2 separate regions of the Homo sapiens genome follow, and region 1 is linked to region 2. The links are contacts of gene promoters, found by promoter capture Hi-C in blood cells and fetal thymus (Javierre and others, 2016). All regions are on one chromosome and are shown on one strand. The core of a region is centred on a gene start or on the middle of the fragment in contact, and the rest is flanking DNA. Distances in the headings are between cores, read along the strand shown. Region 1 overlaps CPE (carboxypeptidase E). Region 2 holds the start of TRIM60 (tripartite motif containing 60).

What was found. The method cuts DNA at HindIII sites, captures the fragments that hold promoters and counts their contacts. A CHiCAGO score of 5 or more calls a contact.
Region 1: a contact is called between a fragment that was not itself captured here and the fragment with the promoter of TRIM60 in region 2, in 2 of 17 cell types (total CD8 T cells and monocytes). The highest score is 5.5, in total CD8 T cells.

The regions. Positions count from the first base shown.
Region 1 is chr4:165,478,271-165,484,129 of GRCh38, reverse strand. It overlaps CPE (carboxypeptidase E), which reads right to left. Exons shown (of 9, transcript NM_001873.4): 4 at 1,771-1,888. Among named protein-coding and RNA genes, the nearest start is that of MIR578, 95 kb to the right of the region's middle. The HindIII fragment of the contact is 1,329 bases long and covers 1,267-2,595 here.
Region 2 is chr4:165,029,248-165,035,318 of GRCh38, reverse strand. It overlaps TRIM60 (tripartite motif containing 60), which reads right to left and starts at 3,320. Exons shown (of 3, transcript NM_152620.3): 1 at 3,207-3,320. RefSeq lists an enhancer at 3,162-3,818. The HindIII fragment of the contact is 7,154 bases long and covers 1-6,071 here.

The DNA of each region.
Region 1 (5,859 bases), core at 682-3,181, 450 kb before region 2:
ATAGGAGGAAGATTTTTATCATTAAATCTTTAATTTAAAAAATGTACCTATACTAACCTCATACCCACTATGAATCATTCTCATATATACCATTCAATATCTGGTTTTATATTTTTTAAATCTCCTGTATGTATTATAGAAATAAATAACATATTTTGATACACTGTGTTCTTATTCATGCATTATAAATTATGCAGGCCTACAAGTTTCCCAATTATCAACAAACCACAAAGTCTTCAAATTTATTTAACAATGTTATTTCCCCAAAGACGTTCTTCAACACTCAGTTTCCAATATCTAAAATTATCATCCCAACAACCCCATTAAAAAGTGGGCAAAGGACAAGAACAGACTTTTCTCAAAAGAAGACATACAAGCAGTCAAAATAATTGGAAAAATCCTCAACATCACTAATCATCTGAGAAAGGCAAATTAAAACCACAATATCATATTACATGACTTAGAATGGCTATGATTAAAAAGTCAAAAAACAACAGATGTTGTCGTGGATTCCCACCAGTGTTGGTGGAAATGTAAATTAATATAACTTCTATGAGGAACAGTACAGAGATTTCTCAAAGAACTAAAAATAGAACTACCATTCAACCTAGTAATCCCACTACTGAGTATGCATCCAAAGGAAAAGAAATTATTATATAAAGAAGACATGTGCACTCATATGTTTATGGCAGCACTATTCACAAAAGCAGAGTCATGGAATCAACCTAATTGTCCATCAATGGTTGATTAGATAAAGAAAATGTGGTACATATACACTATGCAATACTAAGCAGCCATTAAAAAGAATGAAATCATGTATTTTGCAACGACATGGATGGAGCTAGGAGCCATTATCTGGAGCGAAATAATTCAGAAATCAAATACCACATACTCTCATTTATAAGTGGAAGCTAAACAATGGGTGTACCTGGACATTAAGATGGAAATAATAGACCCTGGGGACTCCAAAAGCGGGGAGGATGGGAGGAGGTGAGGGGTGAAAAATTACCTATTGAGTTCACTCTTTTGGTGATGGGTACCCTAGAAACCCAAACCTCACCATTATGTAATATATCCGTGTAACAAACCTACACAGGTACCCCGAATCTAAAATTAAAAAAAAAAAAACAAACTAATCATCCTGTTTTTACAAAAAGCTAACTCTTCAAAGGCCCCAGAAAATAGATCCAAAGCAGGAAATTCCCTGGAGCAACAAAAAACAATTTGAAAATATCTGTCTGGCTAAAGCTTGCTTTGTCTGAAGCTTAACTAAAACTAGTTAGAGAAAGCCAAAGCACCACTTCCCCTCCCTGACACCACCAGAAACAGTTCCAAATGCAAAACTGTGTCAACACAATAAGACACATGTAGAGATCCACAGGGATCCTGATCAAGCACCAAGAGGCTGCCCCCATGTTTAAGCCATCTTCTACATGAACCTACACAACTTCTGTAATCTCTCCACTTTATCAGTGTCCAAGAGTGACCCAAGTTTATGACGTGTGTTTTCTCCCTTTCTGTTGGCTAGGTACTGTCAAGATCACGTTTCTCTTCACCTAACCTATTGAAAAAGTGAGTCCTTTTCTGCCAAATAGATATGCCAACACCATATGAAATGATTAGGAGAGCTTCCTGTTAAACATAGTTCTTTCTTCAGGCAAAAATCACTTAATGTTCAGTTCCTTAAAAAAAATTACAGAAATCATCTTATAAAACCTTGTACAGTGTTATAAACTTTGAACCAATAAGAGAAGCAGAAAGAATACCTACCACTCCGCGTCTCATCATATGGATAATTGGCCACAAGGTCTCCTCCATGGAGATTGGCAGAAAGCACAAAAGGAATATCCATAATCCAATGAATGACAGCCTTGGTCTCAGGAGCAAGCTGTTCAGATGAGAGATTAAAAGGATTATAAATTTAATAATCATTGGTATGATCACTTGACAGAAAAGACATAGGAAAGGTAAAGGAAAAAACTGAAAGCTGGTCATATTTCAACTATTTTGCTGTTGTCCTCACAGAAAAAATAAAGGTTCCTACAAAAGCAGTATTCCTCATGTCTAACTTTCTCAGATTTTTAATAAAAAATGTTTCAAAAGTGTTTAAATTTCTTTCAAAGTTTTATTTTTGTGGGCTGCCAGTTATCCTCTCTTTGTAACTTGAAAACCAGCATGCAACTCACAAATTTTGGGACATCGCTGTCTGATCTGTAGTGGTTCACACATTGTTATTATGAATAGTTAAGGATAATATGAGGAGAAAAGAAAATAATTGAACTGCAGAACAAGATTTGTCCTCTGTGGTGGTTCAAACATGTGGTAAAGTTTATTTCCAAATTTTGCTTACTATTTTCCCAACTTCCCTCAATTACTTCAAACATTGTTCCTATCAAAGAATATTAGGTTGAGTCTCTTTCAGAGTGGACTGTAAAATATGTTTACTTTGGAATGGTCATCTTAAATTTTAAAATAAAGGCAAGTTTCAAGAATTCATGTTAAGTCTTTAGAATGATTCACTGCCCCTCATATCTTGGAAGCAAAACAAAGGAAAAAAGAAATGTATACCAAAGAAATAATGTGGAGCCAAAAGCTTGATACTTTTATGCAATGAGTTTTTAATAGCAACTAGGAAGACTCTCAAACCCCAAGTGCTTCTCTGATGAAAAGAAAAGATTTTACTGGCAACGTGATCCATGCTGTTCTTTAGGACAGAAAATCTAATGGCATCAGTAGGGTTTGATGGTTATAAGATCTCATATTTGTATAGCTCTGCTCTGTTTATGAATAGTTCTGACATGAACTATTTTACTGCACTTCAACATTCGTATTGGATATGCAAAGATATTCATACCCATTTCACAAGGAGGAATCTGAAAGTTGGGTGTGTTAAATAGCATATCTAAGTTCACACAGCTAAGAGTTCACATCCAGTCAGTGAAACCCTAAGGCTCACGCTGTTTCTAGTGTATCAGCTTTAGTCTATTAAAATTATCCTATTTTCACATAAGCTACTGTTAACTGTGGAAAAGTGTGATTTAGAGTAGGAGGTTGTTTTTATTATTTTTCATTTGGTTGGTAGATCTTATTTTTGCTAAAAAAAAAAAAAAAAATATATATATATATATATATATCCATTGTAGAAAATGTAGAGACAGACAAGAACAAAGAAGAAAATTAAAATTACCCATAATTTTACCACCTAAAGATATCCACTACTAACATTTGTATATATCTCTTTTTCAGTCTTTTCCCAATGTATTTATATAATTTTTAAATGTGATCATTTATATGCCATTTTATATACTGCTTTTTTTGCTTGAAAACAGATAATGAACACCTTTTCATGTTATTAAATACCCTTCTAAAATGATATTTTAATGGCTGAGTGGCAGCCAATGTCTGGATATACCATTCTTAAATACTAATAAAATGATAGCTAATACTTATTAAACACTTTCTGTGTCAGACATTCAATTCTCCCATTTACTCTATGAAATAGGGACTACATTTTCCCCCACCCTACAGATGAGTAAACTGAGATGTAGAGAAGTTAGGGAACAGCATGAGGCCACTCAGCTGGTACTGGCAGAGGCTGGTCTCAAGCCCAGCCAGGCCGGCTACACAGCCACTACACTAGTACTAGTAATCTCCAAGAGGTGATACTGGGATGTTTATATTTTAAAAATTAAAAATACTATGAACACCTTTGTAGCTACCATTTGTCCAAATCTGTACTTTCCTTAGAGAAATCCCTAGAAATTGAATGACTTGACCAAAAGCTAAGCACGTTTTTAGCTAAAAATGTTTTAAGTTAAAATCTATATTAGCTAAAACTGTTTACATTTAAAAATGTATTCCAAACTGCATTCCTGTAAGGTACAGAAATATAACCAGCAACAGTATAATAAACCTTCCATCTCTAATCTTTTTAAGAACAATGGAATTATTATGTGTTTTAAAGTGTGTCACTTTGATTAATGACAATAGAATTTTTAAAGTTTGCATTATTTTAATTAACTAATAAAACTAGAAGTTTTTTATATTTAGAGATTATTTCTATTTATTCTTCTGTGACATATTTATATGGTTTAACTAATTTTTCTATTGAAATGCATAGCTTTTTTTTTTTTTTTTTGAGGCGGAGTCTCACTCTGTCACCCAGGCTAGAGTGCAGTGGAGCGATCTTGGTTCACTGCAAGCTCCGCCTCCCGGGTTCACGCCATTCTCCTGCCTCCGCCTCCCGCGTAGCTGGGACTACAGGTGCCTGCCACCACACCTGGCTAATTTTTTTGTATTTTTAGTAGAGACGAGTTTTCACTGTGTTAGCCAGGATGGTCTCGATCTCCTGACCTCGTGATCCGCCCGCCTCGGCCTCCCAAAGTGCTGGGAGAAATGCATAGCTTTTCTTTTTGACTTGCAAGAGTTGTTTAGTAAAAAAAATTAGCTCTGACCTACACACTATAAATATTTTCTAAGTGTGTCATGTGCCTTTCAAATTTTGTAATTAAAATACAGAGCATTAAGATATTTATGTTAAGTACATAACATCAAACCTATTGATCTTTTCTTTATGGTCTCTTTGCTTTTCCATTTCATTCATTCGTTCAATAAGTATTAAGTGACCACTATGTGCTAGTGTCTATACAAGAAATTTAGAAAGTTCTATCCCCCTCTAAGTATTACATCCTTACGAAAGTTTTCTAGTTTCATACTTTTTAAACTTAAATTGTAGTGTCTAGAATTTATTTTGATCTATGCTGTTATTTATGAGATGGATTTGTCTCAATTCCATGTATTCAATAATGCATTCTTTCCACAGGGATCTGAAATACACTCTTATTATATTTTGATTTAAATCAACCTAAAAATAACTAATATGGGAGATGAAATCAAAATACTCTATAATGCATATGCTTTTTTAAGTGAATTTATGTTTTTTATATCCAATTGCTAACATGACATGAATATTATATGAGATGAGTTTAACACACTCTTCTATAATATTCTATTCAAAAGTTTTTCTTTTACTATTGAATTTATTTTCAGTCCTCCTCTTCTTTGTACATCTCTCATTCCCTCTATTTTCTTTAACCCAATGGCAGATATTGACAAATATTCACATTTCAATAAGTTCAGAAGAGGCAAAATCACCATGGTTTGGAGAATCATTGAGGACTTCAGGAAGGAGGTGGAACTTCACCAAGTCCAGGGACGAATTGGGGTAGGAGAAGAAAAGAGAAAAGAGTAGTAAAAATAAAGAAGTTGGAAGTACCCATGGCCCATCTGTCGGGGGTAAGGAAAATACTCTCTGAGAGGGAGGGTTGGTTTTAGTGGGAGTTAGGAGGCAAAGCCATGCCAAGGCAGACTGTATTCCTGTGTTTGTTATCCACCTAAAAGTGTTCAGAATGGCTTGCACAGTATGCACCATATATTTACAGGTTGATACAGCCATAAAAAATAATTTTGAAAGGTACGTATCAAAATGTTAATGGTGTTCACTGAAGATTGTAGGGTAATGGATTCTTCTTTCTCCTTATTTGCATGTTTTAATTTTTGTAATAAAATATGAATTTTGCAATAAAAAACTTTTAAAAGAAACTGTTCTTGAAACAAATTGAAAGATACAGCCCTAAATACACAAAGTTGTGTGAAGCTATCAGGTTTAGCCTATTACTAGTTCTTACATCATACACAATTGCTTATATGCATGTTACCAGTATGTTCAAAAGCAAGCAAATTCTACAATTTGATAAATTAAACTAAATTTCCCTTTGACTATTAACAGAATCTTTTAGTCTGACTAAATCCTGAGACCCCTGTGTACTATAATTATATATTTAACTGATCCACAGAGAA
Region 2 (6,071 bases), core at 2,071-4,570:
GCTGAGGCAAGAGATCAATTGAGGCCAGACACTCAAGACCAGTCTGGGCAACAGAGCAAGACCTCATCTCTACAAAATTTTATGAAAATCAGCCAGGCATGGTGGCATGTCCCTATAGTGCCAGCACTGAGAAGGCTGGGGTGAGAGGATTCCTTGAGCCCAGGAGTTCAAGGCTTCAGTGAGTCATGATTGTGCCATTATACTCCAGTCTGGGTGACAGAGAGAGATACCTCAAAAAAATTAAGTTATAACCTCAAATAATACTATGCTGACTCCTGTGGTCATTTTAGCAAATCACCAAACCTAGGGGTGGTCTTGGGGATACTAATACAGGTATTATTACAAAATCTTATAAAATTTCCAAGTGAAAAGTGCATTTAGAAATCTAGCCAAACTGCCTACATTTATGTCATTAACTGTCGTAGTATGTATAGTATAGTACTATTTTGGTCTAAAAGCTACTATATCTCTCACTGCTCCTAATTAGAAAAGGTGTTAACTGTTCATAGCAGTAGTCGGGCAGAAAATGTCATGTACATTCCAATTTTGAAGGGACAGTAAGGTATTATTACATCTTAAAAATTATAATATTTTTCAATCATAAGGAATTAAAATAAAATAATAATGTGTCCTTTAACTCTTCCCACCTTCCAATTTAACATTTTCATAAATAACAATGTCATTGCAAAAGCTCCTAATCCTTGTTTTAACACACCATGTTTAATGGATGCTTTGGGGCTGAGTAAATTTGAAAAGGAAGTTTTAAGCATTCTGAACAAAGCTGTACAGCCAATACATTGCAAAATATGACTGGAATTTTTTAAATTATAAGAAAGAACCACATTGCTGTAAAAAAGGGTATTTCATGGACGGGCGCAGTGGCTCACGCCTGTAATCCCAGCACTTTGGGAGGCCGAGGTGGGTGGATCATGAGGTCTGGAGTTCGAGACCAGCCTGACTAACATGGTGAAACCCCGTCTCTACTAACAATACAAAAATTAGCCAGGTGTAGTGGCGTGCGCCTGTAATCCCAGCTCCTCAGAAAGGCTGGGGCAGGAGAATTGCTTGAACCCAGGAGGTGGAGGTTGCAGTGAGCCGAGATCACGCCACTGCACTCCATCCTGGGCGACAGAGTGAGAGTCATCTTAAAAAAAAAAAAAAAGTGTATTTCATTTAAAATAAAAAGGTGCAGGGAACATTCCTGCATAGATCCTGGAACTCAATGGTTCGTCCTTCCCCACACACTCCAGCTTCCCCTAACCCATCTTCCAGACTCAGGCAATGAAGTTTAAAGAACAGCATTATAAGCCACTCTTCTCAGTCCAAGCTATAAACATTAGCCTACTATAGTAACTATCTTCTGATACCTGAAGACAAGGCCCCTGTCTCCCAGCATCTATGGGAGAGTTGGGGCCTGACTTCCTTAAGTGCCAGTGAGCAAACCTGGGTGTGTTTCACATGACCCAACCACCCCTTTCCCACTTTTTGTAATTTTTCACTTCCCTGACTCTACTGAGCGCCAACTCACTACCTTCATTCCCCAGTTCCCCTTTGAAGCACTTGGTCACCTCTGTACAAATCACAGTTGAGTTCTGTTCATGCTGAATTCTCCCTATTGCAATAGTACAGTACTGATTAAAATCTGTCCTTATGACTACCCAGTGTCTGGCTTTATTTTTGACATGCTCTATCCCGTCAATCAATTCCATAACTCTATAGTTTCCAAACACAGATCTAATCCTATAACCTTCCGATTTCCAATGGAATGGCTTTTCTTACTCTTAAGTATTACAAGACTCACCAACATCTGGACTTTACTCTTTTCCTGACTCCACATATCTATCATACTGCAGATTACAGTTGAGATTTTTACATTTATTTTTGTCAACCTTTGGTTAAGGACACTGGAGAGTACAGTTCACGGTCTGAATTCTTCCTTATTTTCCTCACAACTGAATTACCAACTCTGATTCTTATGCTGGTGTACAACGTGTGTTCAATAATTATTAGGCTAATAAATCAAACCTGCAGTAGATTCCCTACTCTCAAAATTCAACCTCTACTGCTTGAGATCTTGTCACATTAAAAAAGAAAAATTCAACCTCTATTACCTTATTTATTTTACTTTTTGAGACAGGATCTCACTCTGTCGCCAAGGCTGGAGTGCAGTGGCGCGATCTCCATTCACTGCAACCTCTGCCTCCAGGCTCAAGCGATCCTCGCACCTCAGCCTCCCGAGTAGCTGGGACCACAGGCACGCCCCACCATGCCCGGATTTTTTTTTTTTTTTTTGTAGAGACAGGGGTCTCACTATGTTGCCCAGGCACGAGCGTGAGCTAGAACTCCTGGGTTCAAGCGATCCTCCCGCATCGGCCTCCTCATGGGGTTACAGGTGTGAGCCACCGCGCCTGGCTCCTACTCTGATTCTTGTGCTGGTTCATAGTGTGGGCTCAGTGAATATAAATCAAACCTGTGGGAGATTCCCAGATCTCAAGATTCAACCTCTATTACTTTAGATGATACGAAACGTAAGTGAGCCTAAACTTTCTCATCCGTAGCAGTTTCCTGACAGCCAGATCCTTGTGAGGACGGAAGGAGACAAAATCCGCCAGAGAAGTGCTGGCGCTGTAGGGTGGGAGGTCCTTCCTTAACGCTCCCACCATAATTTTTGGAGATCACGTGGCCACTTCCCAAACTGGTGTTCAGATCAGAATCTTCTTTAAAGTTCAATCATCGGGGTCCCACTGCCTCCGCGGCGAAAACAGAATCCGGCCGAGCACGGTGGCTCACGCCTGTAACCCCAGCACTTTGGAAGGCCGAGGCGGGCGGACCACCTGAGGTCGGAAGTTCGACACCAGCCTGGCCAACATGGAGAAACCTCGTCTCTACTAAAAATACAAAAATTAGCTGGGTGTGGTGGCGAGCGCCTGTAATCCCAGCTACTCAGGAGGCTGAGACAGGAGAATCGCTTGAATCCGGGAGGCGGAGGTTGCAGTGAGGCGAGATTGCGCCACTGCACTCCAGCGTGGGTGACAGAGCGAGACTCCGTCTCAGAAACAAAAAAAAGGATCCACAGTCTGAGCTCAGTCGTGGACAGGTCGCGACCCCGAGGTTTGGGCACAGCTGATACTCAGGAAGCCCCTGCCCAGTTAAGTAAGCCTCCCGCCAGGCCCTACTGCGCCTTTCCTGCGGCCCTCCCAGCTTACCTGGAGCAGTTGGACCGGCGGCTCAGGCCTGATGCTGTGCAGGACCCATGGAACCCCGCGGGGCGCAGAGCGGAAACCCTCACACAACCCTGGGCGCCTTGGTTTTCGAGTTTTAGGCATACAATTGACCAGCGCGGTGGTTGGCTGCTCCACCGGAAGTGGGCGGGAAAGGCCTGAGCATGCTCAATGCCGCAGGGTGCAGGGAGCGTGAGAAGATTCTGAGGAGAGCCTAGGGCGGTTCCCTCCGTGGTGGGGTCCCTGATGGCTTCAGTGGGTCATTTAAATCACAATGGCAATCTTTTCAGATTTTTCATTCCTATGAGCAACTTTTTTTTTTTCTTTTTTTTTGAGACAGGGTCTGGTGCGGTCTCGGCTCACTGTAGTCTCGACCATCCGGGCTCAAACGATCCTCCCACTTCACAGGCGCGCGCCACCACGCCCAGCTGATTGTTGTATTTTTTGGTGGAGACTGGGTTTCGCCACGTTCCCCGGGCTGGTCTCGAACTCATGGGCTCAAGCGATCCGCCTGCCTCGCTGTGAGCCACCGCGCCCGGCCAGGGTGGTTAGTTTTAAAATGCAAGAGGAATAATCAGCTCTTTGGATCAGTTTGCGTCTCTGGTTGAGAGGCTGCGTAGTTACCACCCTGGAGATTAGGCCCCACCCTACCAACTAAGACTCACCAAGGTCTCGTCTGAGGAATTGATATTTAAAGTAGATTTTAAGGGACGAGTATGAGTTTGTTGGACAAACTTGACGGTAAAATCTTCAAGGCTGAAGGATTAGTCCTTGTGAGGAGCCTCTTAAGTCTTATAACTTGGTAAATGAGACAGTGAAAGAGGCTAATATTTGCAGAAGAAGTCATAGAATCGGCATAGCACTTTTTTATTTATTTATTTATTTTTGAGACGGAGTCTCGCTGTGTTGCCCAGGCTGGAGTGCAGTGGCACGATCTCGGCTCACTGCAAGCTCTGCCTCCCGGGTTCACGCTGTTCTCCTGCCTCAGCCCCCCGAGTGGCTAGGACTACAGGCGCCCGACACCACGCCCAGCTAATTTTTTCTATTTTTTAGTAGAGACGGGGTTTCACTCTGTTAGCCAGGATGGTCTCGATCTCCTGACCTCGTGATCCACCCGTCTCGGCCTCCCAAAGTGCTGGGATTACAGGCGTGAGCCATCGCGCCTGGCCGGCGCACTTTTCTGTTTAAAATGTAGGGCTACTTGGCCAGGCGCGGTGGTTCACACATGCAATCCCAGCACTTTGGGAGGCCAAGGCGGGCGGATCAGCTGAGGTCGGGAGTTCGAGACCAACCTGGCTAAAGTGGCAAAACCCCGTCTCTCTAAAAATACAAAAAATTAGCCGGGCATGGTGGTGCATGCCTGTAATCCCAGCTACTCGGGAGGCTGAGGCAGGAGAAGAGCTTGGACCCGGGAGGCGGAGGTTGCAGTGAGCCAAGATCGGGTCACTGCACTCCAGCCTGGGCAATAGAGTGAGACTCAGTCTCAAAATAAAAATAAAAAATAAATAAATAAAATAACTTAGAGCTACCTTCCCAGAAAAATACCCTCTTGTGATGAAGTCTGAGATTTGATGGAAGAGTGGGAAGTAGGAACAGGGAACAATAAGTGAAATCTTCAAATCTTCACACCTTAGTGCAGAAGATGCAAACAGAGAGGATGATAAAGGCTGTGGTTGGGAGGACACTGATCTGGAGTCTGACCAATGGGATGAAGGAAAGGAAACTCTAAAGGCTTAAGGCTGAATGGGGCCAGATTCCACCATAAAATTAAACCAAAGGCTGGGCGGGTGGCTCACGCCTGTAATCCCAGCACTTTGGAAGACCAAATGGAGAGGATTGCTTGAGGCCCGGAGTTCAAGACCAGCCTGAGTGACAGAGCGAGACTGACTCAAAACAGAAACAGAAAAGATGGATTGTATTGTGCTCCTGCTCTGGATGGAGGACCACGAATCTGTTCTGCAAGGACATAAGGAGCTCATGGTCCTCTGTGTACCCCTGACTAGTGCACACAGGGCATCTCTGAGCCTCTGCTGGGAACAGAATATCTCAGTGAGAATCACCTTAGGGGTACAGGTGAGGGAGACTCAGTAAAAGGCATGGAGCCTTCAGCAGGACCTAAGCTGGGGGTAGCCACATGGGAAAGAACCTTGCTGACTCATGTATTTTAATTTTTAGCAATACTTATGTACTTTAGAAACACATATATTTTAATATATATTTAAAATTTCATATAATTATAAATATTTTTATTGTATTATAGTAGCATGATATGTATATATTATATGTAAATATTTTACATGATATGTATATATTACCTATAAAAATTACGTATTTTATTTAATGAAAATTAAAATTTTTCTTATGGTATTATGTTAACATATGTATGTACACATAAACATGTGCAGTTCACTTTTTAACTCTTAAATCTTCAATGAGGAAGTTCTTTTATCATATGGGAATTGAAGAATTATACTTCTTGGAAGGAGCTTCACGCCAATTTACTTGTGGTCCCTCTAATTTTGTCAAAGGTGCTCTCTGTAAACAGAATATCTATCATTACAGTCAGCAGAAACATGAGAAACAAAAAAAATCTTTGGAATATCTTGAATTTGTGCCACATAAAACTCCTATTAAAAAATCTATATTCGTATTTATCCTTACATTAAATTAAAAGACATTGAGAGGCACTATTAGCAATCATTTTTGTATAATCATCAGACATCTACCTTTCCAAATTGAATTATAATATTTGATAAAAATATGTGCTTGAAATTAGAACCTAGTTAGGTGACTATTTTGTATTTGATTAGTTTGACTTTTAAATCTACATAGATCCCCAAGTTTCTCCTG